Linked DNA regions of Homo sapiens: regions 1 and 3 are each linked to region 2. Evidence: promoter capture Hi-C in 16 types of primary human blood cells and fetal thymus (Javierre and others, 2016). All regions are on one chromosome and are shown on one strand. Each heading gives the region's core, a stretch centred on a gene start or on the middle of the fragment in contact. The rest is flanking DNA. Distances are from core to core; before and after follow the strand shown. Region 1 holds the start of TOR1AIP1 (torsin 1A interacting protein 1). Region 2 holds the start of SMG7-AS1 (SMG7 antisense RNA 1). Region 3 holds the start of CEP350 (centrosomal protein 350).

Region 1 (3,359 bases), core at 833-3,332, 3.6 Mb after region 2:
AAAGATTTAATAAAATAGGGGTAAATTCTTTACTTGTTAAAAAAAAGTTAGCCTGTATAACTGCACTAGGCTCTGTGGAACTCAATACAATGTAACATATTTTTTGCCTACCATGTACAAAGCATTCTTCCAGGTACTGAAAAATACTGAATTAAACCAAGTACTTAAATTACTATCAAATATATTATAGGCTCCTTGTCTGCAAAAACTTTGTAATCTTAAAAGAGATAAAACTAACACATATATGGGCTAAACTGTCTTCAGTTGCTACACCCAAAAATAACTGACATAACTTTAACATAAAGTTTCCAAAATCAAGTCTTCAAATCTGTCAGTACCTTCACGAGTCAGCAGGTAAACTTGCAGCCTATCACCGTGCTCTAAGCTGAAAACCCACTCCTCCGCCTATCAATAGTCTACCACAAACTATGTCATCCCATTGTGACTCAGGTCCGCTGATTTTTACCTCACAGGTGCCTTACATGGGATTAACATGAAACTTCATCTGTGACTCAGTGTTAGGTCCTAAAATGGGGGGGGCAGGGTGGGAGAGGATAGATTAAGGAAACTGATTCACCTATGACTTACCTAACACTATACACTCACTTTGTCAGCATCCCTTTTGTCCATTTAGACGAAAACTCTAATTAATAGTCTTGTTTTTCAGGTTACTTTGTCAGTCTGATTTGCCAGACTACTTGAGGTTACAGTGACGGCCACCAAAGTGGCAGATTTTTGGCAGGGACCACCACACTGGAGAAACAGCAATCAGCTCAAGTTATCAAACACTGGGGAACATCAGTTCAGGAAAAATGAGTTACCCCATTTCGGTGAAAGTATTGGGTGAGGTCTCAAATCAATTCACTAAACTCAGCAATCCCTCGAAATGCCCACTCACAAAATTTCTCCTTCCTCTCTGCCCACCTGGGTGAGGAGGGAAAAAGACTGAAAGGTTAGATCCTCAGCTGGGGACTCTGGCCCGCGAGCGTTAAAGAAGGAAATGGAAGTGGTTTCTGTAGAAACATCCGCAGGGTAGAGGGAACCGAAATGAAACCGACCCTGCAGTAATTCGCTGTCCCCTCGTGAAGGCCTGCAGAAAAAGGCAGCTCTGACTCCCCTAAATTGATGCCCGATGTTGGGCAGAGCGCCCCAGCCCTGCCCGGGTCGCTCCACACGACCATCTTTCCACTCCTCCGGTCGGCGCTTCCTTCCCCGCTGCGGGTCAGGGTGGCCCTTGCACGGCGGCACAAGTCCAGAGGGGGCTGAGGAATACCCTTTAGCCAATCCCAGTACTTAGTACCCAGGCGGGCATGAGCTCCACCGAGGCGCGCGCCCGCCCCCGCGCGTTCCCTGGCTCGCGGCTGGGACTGTTACCTCCGCGGTCCTCACCTTCAGAGGAATGAGAGTCCCGCAGCCCTCTCCTGGTCATAACAGGAGACGGCTGTAGCGGAGGCTGCTCTGAGTGCTGCTGCTGAAGGCGGGTAGTCCTTCGCGTCTTCATTTCCTCGGTTTCCTGGGGTCGCGGCTGCCTCCGCTGCCTAGACCGAAGGTAGTACGCGCTTTCTCTCACTTCCTCTTTCGCAGAATCGGACCGGAACTCTTCTAGCCGGGTTCGTTTTCCCACCGGGGACCTTTCTTTGGCCACCAGGGGCTCGAAGTCGCCGTACACTTCTGGCGGCTCGTCCGAGAACCTCACTTCCCGCCGGCCCTGGCGCGACGGAGGAGTTCTGTACGCAGGCGCATCGCTGCTGCCGCCATTTTGAGGGGCGAGCCGGCCCCTTCCCTCTCGGATGGGGGCCCTGGGGGTGACGTACACACCCCATCCTTCCCGCACCGCCTCTGCCCGCCGCCCGTCGCCCGCCATAGTTGTTGACGTAGCTTTAGTCGATCGCGAAGATGGCTTTATGGACCCTAGGTTCTCCTGCCGGTGGTGGCGATGGCTTCTCGGGGGTGTTGGGCGGTGGCCGCTGTGGTCAGGGAGGCAGTTGCGAGTCGCTGGGGCCGCCGCCTGCGTCGTCGCTGCTGTGTAGCAAACCTGCCTCTGGGCCCATGGTGTGTCTTGAGGGCTGTGAGAGAGGCAGTGCCTGAGCTGGGTCAGCTGCTGTGGATCGCTCCCGCCTCCTGGCTGGAGGCACCAAAGAGGAGGAGAAGGGGGAGGAGGACGTCTCTGCCATCGCCCTTAAGTAAAGGAGGGGTGGGGGCGATAGAAGGATGGCAGGGCAACTTGCCTGTCCTAAGTCTAGCCGCTCGTGGCAAGTGTTGACTGCGTGTAGGAGACTCCCGTCCTATCTCCCAGTACCAAGTCTCGGGGAAAAGGAGTGCGACGAGGGTGGAGAAGACCCAAGTTTCGCTTCTCGGCCCCAGGCTGTTGCGCAGTTTCCCTGGAATCTTTTTGATCGACTGCTACGTTGACCATGTCCTTCCCAGTGTCCTTAGCAGGAGTGATGGCCAGAGAGAGAACTTTTGCACATGCCATGTTTTCGTGGCAAAAATTTTAGTTTCAAGTACCTTATGAGGGCGGTTACCTAGTTTTGAATTTTGTCACTTGTTGAGGGTGTACAAAATCCTATCTAGAGTCATACTCGTTGGATGTATTTTCTTTTCCGAAATGTACCCATAGGACACATAACCTTATTCCTGGTCTTTAATATTTCTCGGTTTTATACCAAGCAGCAGTGTTCGGAAGACCATGTTAGTGCTACATTGTGCACAGTGAGAAATGAACAAGTTTTTTAATTAAAGACAGCACTGTAATTTTAAGTTGTGATCCATTATTTTTACTTTTATTCTGGATGTGACGTGATACTCTACATTTGATTTAGAATGCTTTATGGACTTTATGGAATAAGAAAGCATGGTAAAATCTATTTGTTTCACCTCCTTATACAAATGTTTACAGATGTGGCTAATCTGCAAATACCTAACCAAATTTAGACACATTCAGAGAAGGTCGATTAAGTTCGTGTAAAGTCTGAATAATTATTGAAAGAAAGCTTAAATTGCCTTCAAATATACAACTGCTTGTAGGGCTTTGTATGATTGGAGTGAATAGATTTAAAAAATTGTAATTTGGATACCAGTTACAATGAGCGATTCTGAAAAGTTTGAAGGTGTTTGTTTATTCTTCCAAGTAATCACCTTAAAATGTTTTTGAGCAACTCATTTGTTGCTCAAACTTGGCACAAATTTCAACTACTTAAGTCGTAATGTGTACTATGTTTTTATTTTATTTTTATTTTTATTTTATTTTTTTTGAGACGGAGTCTTGCTCTGTCACCCAGGCTGGAGTCCAGTGGCGCGATCTCGGCTCACTGCAACCTCTGCCTCCCGGATTCACGCCATTCTCCTGCTTCAGCCTC
Region 2 (2,891 bases), core at 29-2,528:
CACTTCCCCATCTATTCCCCTTCACGCCTCCCCACACCGCCAACTAACTACAGATGACATTATTCCTCAATACTCCCAACCCGAGAATGAAGAACAAGCTCCAGTTTCCTGCGGTCTCCCTCTCCCCCTGTCTGCCCTCCGCGGTTCCCCCGCCCCAACACCCCAGGTGTGCAGACTTCCTCCCCGTCCTCTACTCATGCATCGCTCCAACCAATCCCACGCCACACCACGAGTCCCCTGCCACGGGGATCAGACTCCTCCACACCCACCTCCACTCGGGGTCGCCGCCGCCTCCCCGGACGTTTCTCTCCACCCCTCGCTAGCAAACCCGAGACCAAGGGCGCGCGCGCACATTCTCACGCTTCCCCAACCTCCCTCCTCGCACCGGGACGAGCCGGCTTCGCCAGAGCTCAGCCCGGGCGGTAGGGGCTAGGCACCCATACCCGTTCCGCCCCCTCCCGCAGATCCCCTTGCAGTCTCCGCCGACCTGCCCGGCGAGGAGAGGACGCAGCAACTCCCCCGCCACCCCGGACTTACCTCGGTGTCTGTTGCTCCATGCCCCAACCTGCGGCCCGCTCCCCCTACGTACCAGCCCGGCCTCGGCACTCACCGGAGGTACTGCGCGCTCTGCAGGCTCATCCTCCGCCGCCGCCGCCGCGTCTTCCCGCGAAGCCTCCGTGGGTCTCTCAGGCTCCTCGGAGCGGCCCCGCGGCACCGCGGGTGCTGGCGGCCGCCGCCATCTTCCTCTCCTCCGGCTCCTCCTCGCTCGGCAGGGGGGTGGGGGTGAATGAGGCGAGGGGGAGGGAGTGGGGAAAGCTGCTCTCGCTGCTGCTCTGGCCCGTGGGGCGCAGGGACACTCCGACCCGGGGGGGAGGGGGAGGGAGGAGGGGCGGGGGAAAGAGGAGAAGCAGAGGAAGTCGGCGACCGGGCGAGGGAGGGGGTCCCTCTCGCGAGATTTCAGCAGCGCCTGTCCCTCAGTGATTTCCGCCTCTCTGTAGCGCTCCCTTTTGGGATCAACGAGCTGTGTGGCGCCTGTGCGGCTTCTGAGAGACCGGCTGGTGGCGCTTGGCGGCTTCCTGCCAATCCACCCTTCTCCTCCCGCGCAAGGGGGCAATCCCAATCCCACCACCGGGAACACCCAGGCCAAAAGAACGGGAGTTACACTCAAAGTCTTCCCCCTTCTTATCACTCCTGCCGATTTCCCTCTTCCTTTTTGCACGCCTCCACTCTTCCCCACCGGAAACGCCGCCCCTTCCTCCTACAGTTCCTCCCAGCAGTCCCTCAACGCCTGTCTTCCCTCGCGCGTAGAGAGTGACTCGAAGGACCCCCTCTCCTCTTCGCTGCAGCCCCTCCCCATGCACGCTGGGAGACTCTTGGAGGGGATAAGGTGGGGCCCGGAGAGGAAGAGAAGACAATCGGATTGGATAGGCAGCTGCCATGGCAACTGGAGGCTGTGGTTATATTGTCATAGTAACCGATGTGTGCGGACAGGGTCACCCTCCCCTTGGCCAATGGATTCCCAGGAAACCACCCAGGGTTCCCCGTTGGCTTCCCTTCCATCTAAAGGCCTCCCCCAAGTTAGGAATCGATATAGTTCTCCCCGGTGGTGAAGTCCACTTCCTCCTCCCTTCCCACTTCCCACAGCAACTGGGGGGACACCCCGAGGCATTCACCATGGGCTTTTCCACCCGCCTGCGAGCGGGAACCACCTCCGTAGTTTCCTCTCAGAGCCGGGCGTGGAGAGGGCTGGGCCTGCGAAGAGGATGCATGGCCTGGAGGCTGGCGGGCGGCGGGCTGGAGTCGGGAGGGCGAGGCGACAGCGCCAAGCGGCGAGGAAGGGCAAGGGGTTTCCCCACAACTGCCTTGGGCTCTGGGAGGCGGGATCCCGCCTGGACGGGGTCCCTGAGGGAGGAGAGCGGCACACGACAGCCGCGATGCCTTCCCTGCCGACGGGGATAGCCGACTTCTGGCGAGTCGACCCCTCCCCCAAATCCACCCCACCCGCGTACTCCCTCCTGACCTAGCTGTCGCGAGCCTGCCGCGAGGAGGCCAGGGTGAGGGTGGGAACACATCCTAGAAGGCTAACACGTGGTTTTCTATCATTTAAGCCGGGGACAAGCCGGAAGGCTGACTAGCGCCATCACTCTGATAGGCACCCCGCAGTGGGGATCCTGCTTGATTATTAAAGGCAGACCTCCAAGTTCCTCCCTGCTCTGCAACCTTTCTCTTCTCACGGGTCTGCAGTGTTTTAAAAGTCGTCATTCTGTGTCGTTGAGTTAGAGAGGAAAACATCGGATAAAAGAGGATCAAGAAGAACGAACCCTAGATACATCTGTCTGGTGAAAGGAGTCTAGGAAAAGAAGTTTCATTCTTAGAACAAATCTTTTTGGATATTTATTATGTGTGTTTTGTGTCAGGTTTCGGGCCAAAAAGCTGAAATAAAGAACGAAGTCAATAATAATATGAAGTGTATGAGAAATAGCTGGAAAATTCATCATCCATGACTTGAAGAAATTGACGTTTTACAAGTTATATTTTCGGTTCGTATTGTGGAGTCACTTAAGGAGCTATCCCAAAGTACTTTAGGATATGTAACTATATAAAACCTTCCAAGAATGCAGCCCTCATAGGATAGTTAAAATAAGGATTTTAATGGGCTATTTTGATTTGGTTTGGTCTGGTTTGGCTACCTGATTCCTGCTGTCTTTTTCTACGCCAGGTGAAGAGGCACTTTCAAGATCCTTCTCTGAGACCTGCACCAATAAGACTATACCAATGTTCAGTTGAAACATCAGGTATAAGTTTAGCGGAAACGAAAGTACAACCTGCTTTGAAATAAATTCCAAGGACAGATTGTCATTAACGAAATAGAAAGTGGACTATGCCCCTCA
Region 3 (3,297 bases), core at 307-2,806, 3.5 Mb after region 2:
TGAAGAGATACAGAGATACACATGTATTTATCCACATATACAATGTATTCTAGCTTGAAGTTTATTTTCAGATTACAGTATCTTAAATTTAATGCACTGACAGTTCAAATGATTCAGATTTATTTCATTACATTAAATAAAATTTGTCAATTTAGCACACCGAAACTAATTATTATACGCCCATGGCTTTGAAGCAACTTCCAGCATGGGTCTAACAATCCCTCAAAGTCACAATTCCATGTCATTAGCAGTGCATTTCCTTGTTTAAAAACAATATATTAAACGAAGAAATTTTCAGAATGGAGGGCAACTTTTAGTATTTTATCATTGTTTCTACAGAACTTTTCAGATTGTTACTAGCTCTGCCAAAGATAGTCTTTCTTTTAAAACTCTTCAAATACAGGGCAGGAGGTATCGTTAACATGGCAACAATAACGACTTCCCCAAATTCAAAACAAGGATCACCATCAAAACAAAACAATCAGGTGGAGTACATGGATATTGATCACTATTTCTGACAACCTGTTTTTTCCCATATGAAGGATTTGCTACTGCATTAAAACATTAAAATCTATGCCTATGTGCAACTTTCTATCTGAATATTTAAAATCCAGGCAAATTCCAATTCATATCTTGTGACATTAGCTAAATATTACTTAGCATGTTGAGCTGCATTTAAAAGGCAGAGGAAAATACTGACAACTTCCAAAACATAAAGCCTTTTAAATCTTTCCCCAAATTATCTGTGAATAAACTACCTTCAGCAGCCGCTAGACTAGAGTAGATCAAAGTTTTCCCTATACTTGAGAATGTGATCCCCACTGAAAAGGAACAGAAACTGATCATCCCTGCCACTGGAGCCAGTCCCCGGAATCTCCCCAAATACGCCTGATCGCCAGATGAAGAAGGGACACTTCTCCGGGCAGCAAAGGCTAGAGGTATCTTACCTCTGCAGGCTAGAGGAGGGGTGGAGGAGGCGGGAGGACACTGGCACGTAAGGAAGGAAATTCCGTCTTCAGCAGGCACTGGTGGGACCCGAAACCTAGGTCCCCGAAAAGCCTCAGAACCCAGGGAGGTTCCCCGAGGGGGACGCCAAGCAGGGCCAAGACTCTCCGCGCCCGGCCCCGCCTCTCTTGCCGCCACCGGGGACCCGGGACCGCGGACAGAGACAGTTGAGGCTGAGCGAGACTCCGCGGTCCCAGCCAGGTCCTACAGGAGCTCACCTGAGAGTGTCGCCTCCGCCCTCGGCTACCACGGTGCATCCCGCGGAGCCTGGCGGAGGGTGCAGTGACGCCGCCCCGACCGGCCCCAGGGCTGCCCGGCCTGGCCTCCCCGCTCCGGGGACGCACCGGGTGCCCTCCTCGCACCGGCTCCGGGGATCCGCCGGTCCGCTGGGAAGGAAGACAAGGCGGAAAGGCTGCCTCCCCTCCCTCAGGGCAAGCCACCCCCCGAGCTGCGGCTCCCTGCAGTTCTCTCTGGCGCAGGTCTGGCCCCGCTCCCCGGCCCGGGAGTCACTTCGTCAGGGGCGGCCCAGTCGCCATTACAGCCCAACAACTGACACGGAGGAGGAGCGGCGCCAGCGGCAGCGGCTGTGGCGGCGGCGCGAGGCAGGGCGGGAGCAGTCGGGCCCAGGCAAACCTCGCGAGAACTGTCCCGAGACAGTGCCACAGGCATGCCAACCTTCGGTTAGGGCCATGTTGAGTGTGGCCGAAAGGTGGGAGCGAAATAAAACAAGGAGCAGAACCGCGAAGAAGCCATGTTTGGTGCGTCGAAGTTTAAACTCGTAGGACTTGGGAGGAGCCAAGGTATATCCGCAGAAGAGACCACCCCTGCCCTTTCGCTTTGACGCTCATTGGGCCTTTTGGCTGCGCATTTCACCCCGGGCTGAGAAAACAAGCTGGGGATTCGACAAGAATGAACTCAAAGTCTGGAAACGGCAGCTTCTGAGAGTTTACAATGTTTCACCAACTGTCGTCCAAATAAGTCGTCACCCCTGTCAGAGTAGTTGCAGCTCTGCCGTTACCCACTGCTGTCACTGTGGCCGTTTTATTCGCGAGGGTTACAGTTCTGTTTAGCATGCATCTAATGACTTAAGACTCCACGCAAGTAAAACGGAGTTTCCTCCCATTAAGTATTGGCTTTGCTTTAACAGTGCTTTGAGAGGCTCTCTGTGGCCAACATATCTTCTCATATCTTTGTCCTCGTTTCCCAATCTCCGCGTGGTGAAATCATCTATCAAGACTTGGCTTAAAGGACCTCTCTTCTGCAAATAATGCCATCTTCCGCTAGGTGCTCACTGCACACAGACTCGCCGCCCACCACTTCTGTCCACCTTCTGAACTCCGATAGTTATTTACCCAGAGACTGTTTCTCATCTTTAAGTGTCGTGAAGACTTTAAGATCTGTTTTATCTCTCTATACCCCAAAATGGCCTAGCACAGTAACTAGGACATTGTAGGTGCTCAATAAATGTTTGTCGAATATCAATGACAGCAGGAGGCAGTAAATGGTCCCTCTTTGTAGGGCCTACAGCTGTGCCTGAGTAGGATGTACAGAAGTCCTGCATACGTGTGAAGTGTCTCCAGGAAGCTGCACTGGAGGGGACAGGAAATGTGGGTAATCGTATGGTGCAAGTGGTAGCAAAAAAGACAACATAAGGAAAATGTTATTTAGGTTTTGCCCAGTCTTGCTGTTTAAAGCCCTGTGTTAGATGCTTTTCATGCGCTATTTTACTGAATGTAAACAACCACCTTATTAAATATACTCACTTTTTTAAAACGAAGAAACACGTACTGGCCGGTCACAGTGGCTCACGCCTGTAATCTCAGCACTTTGCGGGGCCGAGGCGGGTGGATCACGAGGTCAGGAGTACAAGACCAGCCTGGCCAAGATGGTGAAACCCCGTCTCTACTAAAAATACAAAAATTAGCCGGGCGTGGTGGCGGGTGCCTGTAATCCCAGCTACTCGGGAGGCGGAGGCAGGAGTATCGCTTGAACCTGCGAGGCGGAGGTTGCAGTGAGCCGGGATCGCACCACTGCACTCCAGCCTGGGCAACAGAGTGAGACTCCATCTCAAAAAAATAAAAAAAAAGAAAGAAAGAAAGAAAAAGAAACAAGTACTGAAAAAGCTAAGTAATTTGCCCAATTTTATACCATCAATAAAAGGGAGCTGTAAGCTTTGGGATCTGCTTTGCCCCAAAGCCTGTTTATACTTTTTCAGCCCCATGCTATCCCCTTGACAACAGAGAAGACACCAAAGTTCTGTCACTGTGCTCAGAGCAGGGTTACCCTGGTATC

Evidence for each region. The method cuts DNA at HindIII sites, captures the fragments that hold promoters and counts their contacts. A CHiCAGO score of 5 or more calls a contact.
Region 1: the fragment with the promoter of TOR1AIP1 here is called in contact with the fragment with the promoter of SMG7-AS1 in region 2 in 4 of 17 cell types (activated CD4 T cells, non-activated CD4 T cells, total CD8 T cells and 1 more); the score reaches 8.7 in activated CD4 T cells.
Region 3: the fragment with the promoter of CEP350 here is called in contact with the fragment with the promoter of SMG7-AS1 in region 2 in 5 of 17 cell types (non-activated CD4 T cells, total CD4 T cells, naive CD8 T cells and 2 more); the score reaches 10.1 in non-activated CD4 T cells.

What each region holds. Positions count from the first base shown.
Region 1 is chr1:179,881,008-179,884,366 of GRCh38, reverse strand. It overlaps TOR1AIP1 (torsin 1A interacting protein 1), which reads right to left and starts at 2,082. Exons shown (of 10, transcript NM_015602.4): 1 at 1,390-2,082. The coding sequence starts at 1,864. It overlaps LOC139427322, which reads right to left and starts at 2,051. Exons shown (of 1, transcript NM_001436163.1): 1 at 1,974-2,051. The coding sequence starts at 2,051. The coding sequence ends at 1,974. RefSeq lists enhancers at 1,116-1,215, 1,519-1,813, 1,376-2,135, 1,640-2,177, 2,156-2,265 and 1 more. The HindIII fragment of the contact is 5,266 bases long and covers 1-2,995 here.
Region 2 is chr1:183,470,369-183,473,259 of GRCh38, reverse strand. It overlaps SMG7-AS1 (SMG7 antisense RNA 1), which reads left to right and starts at 1,278. Exons shown (of 5, transcript NR_040063.1): 1 at 1,278-2,540; 2 at 2,720-2,795. SMG7 (SMG7 nonsense mediated mRNA decay factor) reads right to left here and starts at 761. Exons shown (of 23, transcript NM_001375584.1): 1 at 611-761. The coding sequence starts at 639. RefSeq lists a silencer at 774-923 and an enhancer at 1,079-1,710. The HindIII fragment of the contact is 8,906 bases long and covers 1-2,891 here.
Region 3 is chr1:179,953,069-179,956,365 of GRCh38, reverse strand. CEP350 (centrosomal protein 350) reads right to left here and starts at 1,556. Exons shown (of 38, transcript NM_014810.5): 1 at 1,224-1,556. RefSeq lists a silencer at 1,122-1,571 and an enhancer at 1,359-1,860. The HindIII fragment of the contact is 10,111 bases long and covers 1-3,178 here.